Linked DNA regions of Homo sapiens: regions 1, 3, 4 and 5 are each linked to region 2. The links are contacts of gene promoters, found by promoter capture Hi-C in blood cells and fetal thymus (Javierre and others, 2016). All regions are on one chromosome and are shown on one strand. Each heading gives the region's core, a stretch centred on a gene start or on the middle of the fragment in contact. The rest is flanking DNA. Distances are from core to core; before and after follow the strand shown.

What was found. The method cuts DNA at HindIII sites, captures the fragments that hold promoters and counts their contacts. A CHiCAGO score of 5 or more calls a contact.
Region 1: a contact is called between a fragment that was not itself captured here and the fragment with the promoter of PKHD1 in region 2, in 2 of 17 cell types (naive CD4 T cells and total CD4 T cells). The highest score is 6.1, in naive CD4 T cells.
Region 3: a fragment that was not itself captured here is called in contact with the fragment with the promoter of PKHD1 in region 2 in 1 of 17 cell types (total CD4 T cells); the score reaches 5.3 in total CD4 T cells.
Region 4: a fragment that was not itself captured here is called in contact with the fragment with the promoter of PKHD1 in region 2 in 1 of 17 cell types (total CD4 T cells); the score reaches 5.5 in total CD4 T cells.
Region 5: a fragment that was not itself captured here is called in contact with the fragment with the promoter of PKHD1 in region 2 in 1 of 17 cell types (non-activated CD4 T cells); the score reaches 5.3 in non-activated CD4 T cells.

The regions. Positions count from the first base shown.
Region 1 is chr6:52,698,736-52,701,435 of GRCh38, reverse strand. No RefSeq gene overlaps it. Among named protein-coding and RNA genes, the nearest start is that of TMEM14A, 29 kb to the right of the region's middle. The HindIII fragment of the contact is 238 bases long and covers 1,139-1,376 here.
Region 2 is chr6:52,086,263-52,089,110 of GRCh38, reverse strand. It overlaps PKHD1 (PKHD1 ciliary IPT domain containing fibrocystin/polyductin), which reads left to right and starts at 1,498. Exons shown (of 67, transcript NM_138694.4): 1 at 1,498-1,677. The HindIII fragment of the contact is 11,017 bases long and covers 1-2,848 here.
Region 3 is chr6:52,642,922-52,645,621 of GRCh38, reverse strand. No RefSeq gene overlaps it. Among named protein-coding and RNA genes, the nearest start is that of TMEM14A, 27 kb to the left of the region's middle. The HindIII fragment of the contact is 3,233 bases long and covers 1-2,700 here.
Region 4 is chr6:52,667,498-52,670,214 of GRCh38, reverse strand. LOC730101 (a long non-coding RNA gene) reads right to left here. Exons shown (of 3, transcript NR_024405.1): 3 at 1,062-2,717. Among named protein-coding and RNA genes, the nearest start is that of TMEM14A, 2.3 kb to the left of the region's middle. The HindIII fragment of the contact is 966 bases long and covers 965-1,930 here.
Region 5 is chr6:52,717,775-52,720,474 of GRCh38, reverse strand. No RefSeq gene overlaps it. Among named protein-coding and RNA genes, the nearest start is that of GSTA2, 44 kb to the left of the region's middle. The HindIII fragment of the contact is 274 bases long and covers 1,124-1,397 here.

The DNA of each region.
Region 1 (2,700 bases), core at 8-2,507, 610 kb before region 2:
TACTGTAGTGAATACTGTAGGAAACTGTAATGCAATAATAAGTATTTGTGAGGCCGGTTGAGGTGGCTCACACCTGTAATTCCAGGACTTTGGGAGGTTGAGGTGGGTGGATCACCTGAGTTTGGGAGTTTGAGACCAGCCTGACCAACATGGAGAAACCCTGTCTCTACTAAAAATACAAAATTAGCTGGGCATGATGGCGCATTCCTGTAATCTCAGTTACTTGGGAGGCTGAGGCAGGAGAATTGCTTGAACCCGAGAGGCGGAGGTTGCAGTGAGCCAAGATCATGCCATTGCACTCCAGCCTGGGCAACAAGAGTGAAACTGTGTCTCAAAAAAAAAAAAAGTATTTGTGTATCTAAACATAGAAAAGTTACAGTAAAAATATAGTATTATAATCTCATTGTATAAGCAGTCCATGGTTGACTGAAATATTATGTAGCACATGACCGTAGCCAATAGCCACCTCCTGTGCCTGAAATTTCCTTGTGTTATGAGTCAGAGTAAATTTTCAAAAGTTTAATAATTATGCTCTAAGATTTACAATTTTGCTGAAATGGCTGTGCTTTGCTTGTCTTTGGAGCCCCTGCTGTACCTAACACAGCTCCTCACACAATTAGCCTTTAAGCAAAAGATAAAATTGAAGATTTTTAAAAGTTCAGGAGCGAAACCTCTTTGGTGTGATCCGGCGAAACTCAATCAAAACGTAGCAGAAAATTCTTCAGATAGTATCTAGTCTGAGAAATCTGGATGTACCCCATATAGTTTCATGTCCAGACCTAGAACTGTGAATGCCAGCAGGCTGGACTGCCTCCTATTTCCCACAACCCTACCTCTCCCTCCAACCTGCCACCCTCCCGCGGTCTGCCCACCTCCTCTCAGGGCTTACCCTGGTAAAGCCCTTGTTGGAATTGGAGATTGAGCTCTGCCTCTCTGATTCTTGGAGACTCGCCGGATCAGATAGCCTAAGTTACCTCAGAGTTCCTGACATGAAAAATTGTAGGAGAAACTGAAATCACAAATGTATGCATTTTTCATCACACTTCATAAATATTGTAAGTTGTAAGTAAATAGTGCTTAGGAAAAAATAAGTAAAGTAAAGCATGTTTAGGAAAAAAATGCTGCTTTTTGGAAAGCTTTGTTTTATACCTTGGTAATCACTGTCCATATTCTCATATTTGTTAACTTTGGAATATGATGACTTCCTTTTATAATAATTATTTACATAAAATTACACATTTACCAAGATGATAATATTGAAGATGTAGTAGGCTTGGTGAGAGGGCAACCTAGCTCTGGTTCTTCTACCATTTAGCTGAAAGACTTTAGGCAAGTCACTTGACCTCTCTAGGCTTCCTAAGCATCCAAAGGAAGCTTTGGTTAAGAAGAGCTCCAATATTATAATGTCAGCTGCTGCCTTTCCTTTTTTCCTGGTGAAAATATGAGAGAGAGAAAGAGACCCACCAACTCTCTGAAACATGGAAGTGTTTTGGAGCATCGAAGGTAGTGAAGAGAAAACATCTAGTACTGGGGATTGTAAAGCAGACCCAGAGAGAACTTATTTTGCAAAAACAAAGAGCAGAGGGGATAAAGACGAACTCCCTCCCCATATTCACACTCACACTCTACCCTTGCATACAGATTATTTTTAAATTTAGTAAGCATCCAATTTCTACTTCTGAATGCCACATTTCTGTTCATTAAGACATAGTCATAAGGAAAATAATATGTCTACTAAACATCTGCTCATTTTTAGAGAAAGGCCAATATGGGTGGCTGAAAATTTTTATCCGTATTTTCTAATTTTTCTACAATGAGTTTTAGCACTTCTGCAATAATATTGAAAATATTTTTAAATAAATAAGGGGAAGAGAGCTTTACATCCATCTTCTTTGTCTTATAAAAATGGCAGAATTCCCTGAGACTGAAATGTCTCTTACTCTTGTGTTTGAGAGTTGAAGTTAATGCTGGTCTTCAGGTATAGGAATGAGAGTGATAGGACATCAAGGTTTAACACTATTTAACATTAAGTACTTAGGAATTATGACCAGGAAGCTATGTATTAGCATCTTCTCTGAATATTTTTTATTACTCCAAATTGTAAAATTTAACATTTCAAATTATTTTTTATTGTAAAACGGATAGAATACAATCTGGGAAAAATAATATTTTCCAGTTTTTGTTGGGTTTTTACATCTCTATGCTAGAAAATATTAATAATACAGGAAAACTAATTGTATTTCAATTTTATGTTAAAATTATGCTATACAAAATGCACACATTTAATTGGTAAATGTATTTTAAAGCGAAAGTATCCAGAAGTTAATTGGTAACAATCTAACAATAACACTGATTAAAAACTCTTGTGAGTGGTAAGAAAAGATAGCTTGATTTATGTTTCTTTAAATATGCAACAAAGGATCTTTTAAGTTAATTTTGTTTTATTATTAGATTGTTACCAAGTAACTTCTAAGATTAGCTGCAACTTAATTCCTATGTCTAAGCCTCTTTGGCTTAAAGAGAAGGTATGTAATGAGACAATCAAATATTTGCCTGTTCTTTAGCACTAGGAATAAGGGGTAACAAACACCACCCAAGGGAAAGTTATGAGAAAAAAAATAACAAAGGTCAAATACTGAGCCAAGATGGGAGTTAGTCTTTACTATACATCATGTCATTTAACCATCATGACAGCACCAC
Region 2 (2,848 bases), core at 249-2,748:
TTTAGGATGCGGCCTTGATAGCTAGGCTGCCAAAAATACTTATAAATATTTATTATAGGCCTTTTAGCCAAGGATAGATGTGGGGCTAATTTATGGAAACCTCTTGTTGAAATAACAAGAAATAAAACATAAGTCTTAGGAAACTTATCAGGAGACTCTACAATATAATAAAATAATCTGATTATATTTCTGTCTCCTCTGCCAGATGGTAAGCAGTTTGAAGGCAGAAACTGTGTCATACTCTTTAAAAATATAACTTTGAATTATCTAAGTGATTCATATCATTTTTATAAAAATAAAAGTTACTAATAATGTTGAAATCTCCTTTACCCCCAAACTAGTCTTCCCCCTCCTTCCCATTACCCACATGCCAGGCACACAAATGTGGTTCAAATGATGCTTGTTGACCTGCATGGAAGAGATCCAGAGTGGAAACTGAGAGAGGTTCAGCAGGCAGGCAGGGTGGTGGGGTGACTGACCCCCTACCTGCCCCAATCTGGCCAAGCACCCTCTCTCTACACCACTAGCTTCAGGGCTACAAAAATTTTTCAGCTTGTCACGGGTTGCCAAACTGTGATATACAGCAGAGTTGATGTAAACTTCCACACTTTCTAGAGGATAGTTTTACTACTGTCATCAGAGTTGTGGTCGTATTTCCATGGCTTTAATCTGGTTTTGCTGGAGATGCTTCTCCAGGTCTACTGCTGGTCCTTGAAGGTGGAGACTCAGGGCTATCAAATTTTACCAAAATGACTTCTCCCTCAAAGGAAAGGGAGAGGATAGAAGATAAGGACGTCTTCTGGTCAGGTATCGCCAGACGTAGACAAACATGATCAGGAATTGGGGGATGTGAATCAGAATGGGCAGTGGGACAGGAACAGAGAAGTCAGACATGGACCAAGTAAGAAGGTGTTGTTGACCTTCCTAGGCCCACCAGTTCAACCGATGACTGAGGCCCATGGTCTGGGTACGACTGGAGGGTGATGAGTACAAGTCAAGGACCTCCTCTTGGTTAAAAAAGCAAGGTCAAGAGGGAGGATGAGGAGTAGAAAAATGAAGAGAATCAATCAACCCTTTCTCAGCAAGACTTGGACCAAGTTACTTCCCTTCTGTACTTCTTTAGACCCATACCCCTACAGTGGGTATATGAATAACAGCCCATAACCTGGTATTTACGAGTCACTCTTCGGGATGAAGAGTGAGAGACTGTTCATGAATGGGGATCTGCCCTCTAGTGGTCCTTTCTCTTGAGCCCTCTGTTCAATCGCTGATTTGCTGGCAAATTCTTTCAATGTTGAATGCCTGTTTGTCTCACTGGGTGGACTTTTACTTAAAATTCTTATCTGGGGCACATGCAGTAAGTGGAGAAAAATGTAAGACACTTTTCCTTTGGTCATTACTAACAAGCCCTGAGGAAAAAGCCTGAGTGGCTTATGTTAATCATTAAACTTACCCATGGTCAGGTCTGAACTTTTACTCTGGTACACATTTGGCTGGGACACAAACGAGTTAGGTGAGTTATAGTCTAACGTGAGTGAGTTACCTGCGTGGTGGCTGCAGGCTGAGCTCTAACCAGATAACATGTCCACGGATTCTTGACAGAGAGAAATAAGATCACTTAGAAAGAAAGGATCATTTCTCCCTTGAGTCACAAGGAGACAGAAACAGAAAAAAAAGGTACTGTTTGATCCAGAAAAGTCTCTGCTCTCTGTTTTCTAGGTGTTGTATCTCTTGTTAACGTTCTGGTGAACAAAAGGAAGAAATGGGAGATCTATAGTAGTGCCTTGCAACTTTGTCCCTCGATGTCCCAAAGGAGAAGCTGAGAGGGAAGGGAGGAAGAAGGGAAGAGGGAGTGAGAGCAGAGAGAGGAGAGAGAGAGAGGAGAACAAAAACATGACTAAATAAATGCACACAGCTCTCCTCTGTGGTTGAAAAATTTTAGTTATGAGAAATAAAGAGAGTCTGAGTTTATTTTTAGGAAGAATTAGTGGATAGACTAATAAAAAATTACATTTATAATTGACATGAAAAAGATGCAGTTCCAAATGTAGGGTTTTAAGAAAACCAGTGTGCGAATGTTTATTTCTATTGTTCTGAGCTTGGGAGTAGGCATTAAGAAGAAATGTTAAAATCACGTAGCCAGATTGAAAATAGACTCTCCTGTGCTGAGTATATTTTGTCTGTGTAACAAGCAAGTCAGATCTCATGCTTTTGGACTAAGCAGCAAATACGCTTGGGTACTTTTCCCTATGTGGTAGATGTATTCTGAAAGTTGTATATTTATAAGTTGAATTCTATTTCAAATAGACGTAAAAGTTTGGGAATTTTGCAACGAAAAGGAACACTTGCTGAATCCACTTGAAAATACTAGAATTCCTTTCTTAAATCCAAGTAGCCTCCACACTTACCCTATCTGGTAATGACTCGGGGGCAGGTACATAGATTGTTTGTTTTCCCAACTTTTAGTATAGTGCTTAGCACGTAGTGGGCATACAATAAATGTTTGCAGTGTTGAATTAAATAGAAATGATTATAGATTTCCAGCTGTCTCAATCAGAACATGCCCGTAAGGTGAGTTTATTGCAAAGTTTTTGCAGATTTTTTTTTTGAGGGGGGGAGTATATTGTAGCTTTTATATTTTCAGAAATGATGTAACTACTTCTGCTAATCTCAGTGTTTTCTTAAAAATATAAATTAAATGGCCAGGTGTGGTGGTTCATGCCTGTAATCCCAGCACTTTGGGAGGCTGAGGCAGGGAGATCACTTGAGGCCAGGAGTTCAAGACCAGTCTGGCTATCATGGTGAAAACCTGTCTCTACAAAAAATTCAAAAATTAGCCGGGTGTGGT
Region 3 (2,700 bases), core at 107-2,606, 560 kb before region 2:
AAAAGGTAAATGTTCTGTATGGTAAGCTCACATAAAAGTATCAATGATATCTGTCATATTCTGCTTACCATGGCTTAGGAAGGGAGAGAGGACACACAGAAAGGGGAAATAGCTGAGACTGGGCAATTTACAAAAGAAAGAGGCTTAGTGGACTCACAGTTCCACCTGGCTGGGGAGGCCTCACAATCATGGTGGAAGGTGAAAGGCATGTCTCACATGGTGGCAGACAAGAGAAGAGAACTCATGCAGGGAAACTCCCCTTTATAAAACCATCAGATCTCATGAGACATATTCACTATCATGAGAATAGCATGGGGAAGACCCACCCCATGAAGGTCCCTCCTACAACACATGGGAATTGTGGGAGCCACAATTCAAGATGAGATTTGGGTGGGGACACAGCCAAACCATATCAGGTGGCAATTTTGCTTAGGGCTAGCATTTCTAGAACTTATGAAGTCACTGGAGTAAAAACATATATTTGAAATGAGCCCTATATCTTAATTTAAAAATAAAATAAAGTGGAGAGAATGAAAGAGTGGGTTTAAGGGGGTACATAGTAGAAAAAACCTAGTTCATATCCTGCCACTAACTAGCCATAGTCTTAGATGAATTACTTAAACTCAGTTTCTATAAAATGTGGTGATGCATGGTATCTAAGACGTTACATCAGTTAGGATTTAGTTGCAAGTGACAGAAAATCCAACTGAAACTGGTTTAAACTGTTAAGCAAAAAGTTACTCTATTGGCTCTTGCAAATAAAATCTAGAGATAGTTCTAACTTCAGAAACAGTTTGAACAGTGTTCCAAAGAGGCCACATGAACCAAGTTGTTCTTTATTTTACTCTCTACTGCTCCATGTGTTTGGCTTCATTTCAGACCATGCATGGCGGCAAGATGGCAGCCCCAGTACCAGCCAACATGTCTCCATGGTTCAAATGTGGATTTGAGGGCAAACTCAGAAGCCCAAACAGACCCTCCAAAATGAGACTGAGTTATGTTCTTATCCCTGAACCAATCACTGACCACAGGAGAAACTGACACTCTGGATCATATGCCAGTCCTGGGTCGGACACCATCCCTGGAATGCGAGGTGGTAGGGAGGGACTGTCAACTCCACAAAAACCACAGGGATGGAAAGTGGGGAAGGGTGGATCCCCCACAAACATTGGAGGCCGTTCCTGGAAACAGGGTAAGTGAAGAGGGGCTGGCCAAGAAACCACACACATCTACCATGCAGATCTCAGTTCCAACATTCTGCAGTTCTGTGAGGCCCTCCTACGGCCCAGAATACCAGCATAGAAAACCACATTCACCAGACTGCCCTCCAGATGGAGCAGGAATGGGCTTGGGGAGGAAGGAATCCCATTTCCATTTAGGATGACTACAATCATACACTTCAAGAGTCCTGACTGGAAAGGCTGTCTCTCCTGGCAAACCAGTCCCATTTCTCATTTCTCTAGGAGAAATGCACACAAAACTTTCCATACTCCTGCCTGGCATTAGCTCTCTGCTGACCTCCATCTCCCTTTCACCCTGTCTGCCTCTGCTCGGAATGTGTCTCTCTTGGACTACCGCTGTCTCCTATCTGACTTCCTCTGCTACCTCTCTCTATTCCTCTCTCCCTCCAATACTGACCGGTTGAAGCTGTCATTACTGTCTGCCTAGCTTTCTCAAGAGTTTCTACCTCTGTTTCTTTCTATTCTCTCTCTTTTTGGGGTTCTCCCTGTCTCTGCCTTATTTTTTCTCTGTCTTATCCTGTCTGTGCTTCTCTACCTCAGTCTCCAAGAACCTGCCTGTCACTTTCTTTACTTGGCACTTTCATTCTTTGTGTCTGCCTCCCTTTCTGCATCTGCTTTTGTCTCTATCTTTTTCTGAAATAGACAGTTCTCACTGCTCCAGATAGGGTCTAAAAATGTCTACAAGTCCTGCTTATTCCATATGTTTATCAGCAGATGGACCAACACTGTTTGAGGATGGAGGCAAGACCTTGAAGGAGGAGAATTTAGAGAGAAGAAGGAAGCATTGACAGGGCACCTGAATCATGGTGCTGTGAATAAGGGGTTATTCAGACCAAACCTACACAGCACACACACACATTAATGTCACAAACCACCTTCAGATAGGCGCTAATCTTCTCCATCACAGTCACAGTTGGGTATGGTTGAAGTTTTGTTTTTTCTCAGTTGAACGCTTTTTAACTGATTAGCTGCTCCCTGGATTTCAAAGCAGCTTGGATATCTGTAACTGACACACAATCTCAGTGCCGCAGCCTAGCAGTTTACAACAGGTCCTTTGGATGAACTGACTTTGCCATTGTGTGCCTTGTGAGTTTCACTGTGTGGACAGCTCAGCCCCTGTTTTCTCTGTGGCAGTTATCCAGGTCCTGCTTCTCAGTGACTAAACACATCTCTGGTGCCCAATGCAGTGAGGGCTGACATTAGGCCCTTCTTAACATTAGTCTACAATTTCCAATTCAATAGAAGATATTGCTGGGTTTTGGAAAATAGAATGTGGCAGAAGTAGACATATATCCAACAGGCTTTGCACTCAGGTTTTATTTTTACACAGAGTTTAAAACTTATATCACATACCATCCCAAGGACTGTCCTAATCTTCAACAAAGTTAGTTTTCATTTCATTATTTCTTCATTTTAAAGGTTGATACATTGGCTTTTGCAGTCACCAGCATATTTTTTA
Region 4 (2,717 bases), core at 198-2,697, 580 kb before region 2:
TGAATTCCTGAGCTCAAAGCAATCCTCCCGCCTCTGCCTCCCAAAGTGCTGGGATTACAGTTTAAATTGACTTTAAATTATGCCTCCCTGTAGCAACTTATCATCTCAATCTTCTGCCTTCTTGATTGAATACAGAACTCCGACCCTCTTCCTTATGTAACAGCCCTTTGGAGATTTGAAGAAGGTTGTCATAGTGAAGTAGCTCTAGAGGTTCTGTGTCACTGAGAATTACAGCGGAATTCCTCAGAATAAAAAAGGAAACTCAAAAATTAAATCTTGTGAAGTTTGTTTGCTACATCTATTCTTTGTGCATAAAAGTGCTTCAGGGAAGTAATATAACTACATCTAACTTATGAAAGTCTAAGTTGGTCCTGGGGAATTAATAAAATTCCTGAAGATTCACAGAAGAGTTGATGGCAAGGCACTGGAATGTGGCGTGGAGAAAGTGATAGCCTGAAATTTGGTTCTGAGTTCTCTCAGCCCTCCTTTCCATCCCCTTCTATGCCCATCCTTACCCCAGCCTCCTCACCTTCTCTCCTCACACTCTCAGAACACTTACCCTATTTGGAATAAAACTAAAATCCTCTTGGAATACTTCATTATCTTCATCTGATGTGACCTGGGTAAATAACTCCCCTCTGGACCTCAGTGCCTGGATTTAAGATATGGACAAGACTAGATGCTCTGAGATCCCTTACACCCTATCACCAACATACTCGAAGCTGGAAACAGCCTCATGATATTCCTACTCAAGGCGTATCACCTAAAACTAAAGAAAAACTCTTTGAATATTATGGGAATTCCATACCCTTGAATATGTGGGAACAGGATGGTTCTTAGGCAAAGGGACCACTGCCCTCTCAACTCATAGGCACCAGCTGCTGCCTTCTCCAGCTAATGGAAAGGCTGCAGCCCAAGGTAAGGATGCAGGAAAGCCTATTCCCCTCAACTGTTTTGTAAAGCTTTCTATGCATGATCCACAGCAGAGACTCTTAACTTTCAATGTGTCACCAACCTCTTTGGCAGTCTGGAGAAATGCACAAAATAAAATACACAGGATTGCAAAGGAAGCCAATTTTATTGAAATGCAATTTCATTGAAATCAAATTCTTAAACATTTAAATCTGTCACATAATAGATGTGCTTCTTTATTAACATATTAAAGATTACAAGACCTAGGGGGTGGATCTAATTATTACCATAATTTCAGAGTGGTGCTGTACATAAATATTTTAAGATATCTGTAACGTGGATATCTGTGATTCCTAGTGATGACAGAGACACAGGTACTAATACTGCTGTGGTTTGTTGCCTATTTTCCTGATGGAAATAAATAAAAACTTTTTTCCATCGAAGTTTTCAGATTTCCTGATTTCTATCCTCTGGCCCCTTTAGATTCACAGATTCCAATTTAAGAACTCCCAGTCTATAATAATGCAAGTTTTCGTAAGTTGTACATAGATGGAATCAGAGAAATGGAAGTAAGGTGAAGAGCCTCACTGACTGGCTGGCTGCTCAGGCAGGGCCTCACGGGATGGTTACACCCTGTGGATCCTGAGCCTGCTCCTCATTTTCAAATGTTCAGAAACTCAGTTTGTCTCAGTTCTTCTGGGGGCACCCTGGCTTTTGAGAGACAGATTCATAAAAATCAGAGTCACAAGGGACTTACTGATTTTTTTAAGGCCCACTTCAGATTCTTGATTTTTTTCTCCTTTCAGATTTCAAACAATGTCAAAGGACATTATTCTTGTCCTTTGAAAATATGATCTTATGGCAGGCCAACATTTTAGCATCGTTTCTATGGCTCACTTACAATGACAGCCATCTTGCAGGCACACGTCTAAAGAGGTTACCTTCCATTTCTGTGAAGTCAAAAATCTCCATAAGTGCTTTTGCACTTTTTGAGGAAATTGAAAAGTAACCAAAAGCTTTCATTATGAAAGTCTCAATGTCACATTTAAGCAACTCACATCCCTTTTTAGCAGTGTTGTATATAAGATGTACAAGGCATTGAATGGATAAGATCTTTTCATTTTCTTTGGTAAGAAGTTTGTAGACTGAATGCAATTTGCCAAAATTTTACATCTATACTGTCTGACGAATACACAGATAGATGAGCTAAGTCTAGTTTGTATTTAGACAAAATATCAACAATATTTTATGATTTCAGCAGTTTCATTAAAATCCTCACAGAAATGAAGAAGATGATTTGAAACTCCTGTTTTCAAGTCAAAGTACCTAACAGCTAGAGGGAACATATTTTTGCTGCCATGATTTGGCATATTACTTAAAATTGATGTACTGTAGAAACCAGGATTGTTGGTGAGATATGACAGAAATTGGCTTTATACTGTAAGGAGCCAACACATCTGTTATCAAAAAATTTCCCTTCTTCTTTGTCCAGAGGATATTTTAGCTGCAATTCTTGAATCAGGAAATGAAACTTTACTCAGTTTCATAGAGCAATCAAGGGAACGCTATGACAATGCAGGCTTATTTGCCTGGTATGCCCATGCTAATTCAGCAGCTGCTATTTTTGACTGAGCATTGGTGTCTTTTGGGGAAACAAAGGTATTTTTGATTGGTTTAGAAGCATTCACCTGTCCCATCTTACTTGTGAGATTTGCCCTCCATATGTGCTTGCACATCCCCTTCTCCACCATGTCCAATCTCAAATTTTTTTCTGTATATTATGTAGTATGCTCTGTTTTGGTTAT
Region 5 (2,700 bases), core at 11-2,510, 630 kb before region 2:
TGCTTCTGTACCAAAAAAAGAATGAAGATAAAACTGAAAATCAGTCATAGTGTGTGGATTTGCCAAACTAAATTAAATTACTTTTCTGGAGTCTAGTGGATAAGTGTCTTAGTCCATTCAGTGGCTGGAATAAAATGCCGTAAACTGAGGTGTTTATAAACAACAGAAATTAATTTCTCACAGTTCTGGATGCTGAGAAGTCCGAGGTCAAGGCTCAGGCAGGTGTCTGGTGAGGGCCTGTTTCTTCGTAGACGGTGTATTAGTCCGTTCTCACACCACTATAAAAATACTGCCCAAGACTGGGTAATTTATATAGGAAAGAGGTTTAATTGACTCACAGTTTCACAAGGCTGGGGAGGCCTCAGGAAACTTACAATTACAGCAGAAGGCAAAAGGGAAGCAAGGCCCTTCTTCACATGGTGGCAGGAGACAGAAGTGCAAGCGGAGGAAATACCAAACACATAAAACCATCAGATATCGTGAGAACTCACTCACTATCATGAGAATAGCATGGGGGAAACTGTTCCCATGATCAGATCACTTCCCTCCCTTGACACATGGGGATTACAATTCAAGATGAGATTTGGGTGAGGACACAGAGCCAAACCATATCAGACAGTGCCTTCTTACTGAGTCCTCACATGGTAGAAGGGGCCAGCAAACTCCCTTGGGCCTCATTTATAATGGCCCTAAAGGCACTAATTCCATTCATGAGGCTCTGTCCTCATGACCTAGGCACCTCCCAAAGGCCCCACTTCTTAATGGCATCACCTTGGAGATTAGGTTTCAACATATGAATTTTAGGGGGACACAAACATTCAGACCATAGCAATAAGAATGTTGGTAAAATTTCTAAAATAAATGAATTATGCTGACACAAACAGGGCAGCTACTAACTCATAACTATAACTGAGACTGCTATTTGCCAGATACAGCTCACAGAGAAGGTAAATGTCAATCGAAACATTTTAACAGAACAATTTAAATATACTCCAAGAGCATCCCCCTTAAACTCACCAAATCATTTCAAAACTAAAAGCAGACCTGTGAATGTGGTTAATTGCCTCTAATATCATGTTTTATAAGTTAGTATTTTTATGTTAAGTTTTCTTAAAATGAAGCTTCCAGTATAAGGATGCCTGTTTGAACTTAAACATATGGTCCACACACATACACATACATGAAGAAAACGTGTACCAAATGTTTAAGGGCTGAATTGCACTGAATTATGAAGTTCCATGATTTAAGATTCACAATTTTAAAACATTGGATTAATATGTAACATGTCATTGGGACTTCTTACAAAAAGAATTGATTTTGCTTAATTTTTTTTCAATACAGTTTAAATAAACTAACTTGTTTGCTTATCTAGCTATCTCCGATTATTTTACAAAGCTTTATTTTCCACTGTTGGTAACAATTTAGTAACTAGTGCCAAGCAATGTCCTGCAAGGAGAGTGAAGTGCAGACCTTTCTAAGTGAGACCAGTATGTGCCGAGGCACCATCTTCATGGGAGCAAAAAAATCCCACTTTATATCACAAGCAGGATATAAAGATTTTCTATAAACCAGAAAATATGTATTCAATATTCAAGGAACCATGAGCTTGTACTGTGTGCTAGCTTACTGGATTGACTTTTTAATGTAATGGAAAGTCTTTATTCTTCCTCTGAAATTGCCCAAGAATCCTCATTACTAAAAGCCAGTTTGAGTAGAAAGCAGAATGGAGGCATAATGCCAAGATGACTGATGATACATTTCCAGAATCCTAGGCTGAGGATAAACATAATTTTAAAAGGCATGTAATTACTGGTCTATTTAATTCCTTTTATTCTTACACCTGTTAAAGATGGAATTATTGCCTTTGATTTTTTATTTTAGAGGCACACTTGAAAGCTGTGAAATTACCTACTTAGCAGCTTTGCCTGCTTGCTAAAGTTCTTCTGGTTAGAACAAGGTAAATGCAGAGTAATTACTTCTCATCTCTCCTTTTTTGCAAATAGGTAGAGGGAAATGATTGATGTTCATAGTCTATTGAGTCTTTTTTTTAATAATTTCCCTCAAATAAAAGATAGATTTGGAAGTAGTTACAAAAGGAAAGAAAGAGCTAGAGAAAGCTGGTGCAAGATGATATTCTATTAATACCGATTGCTTGGAGCTCTGTTTGATGCCATTTGACTGAGGAAGTCACCACTTTCTCTCAAGCAAAAAGTTCAGTTGTTAAAAATGCAGGAAATATTCTAGAATGTGCTTACTATATGCTTAAAACTTAAGTCACAGATACTGAGAATTATTTTCAATTTATCCTAAGCTTAAAATAAAGCGAGAGCTTACATTAAAGCCAAAATCACAACTAAAATGATTTAAAATGAATTAACCTGATTTATTCAGTTATAGCTAAATACTCTCATTATTCTCTCACCTCAAATCAATAATAGATACTAATTTGAATGAATAGGCTAGAGATTTGCCATTCTATTCTAGATGTATAAATAATTTTTAGAATAATAGACATATGAACACACACTATGAAAAATATATTTCTAAATAAATTAGCAGTCTGTTTCTCATGTTTCAAACTTTCATTTTGAGTTTATTTGAATTTTTTTGGGGGGGAGTGGATAGGGTCTCACTCTGACACTCAGGCTAGAGTACAGTGGTGTGATTATGGCTTACTGCAGCCTCTGCCGTAAGAGATCC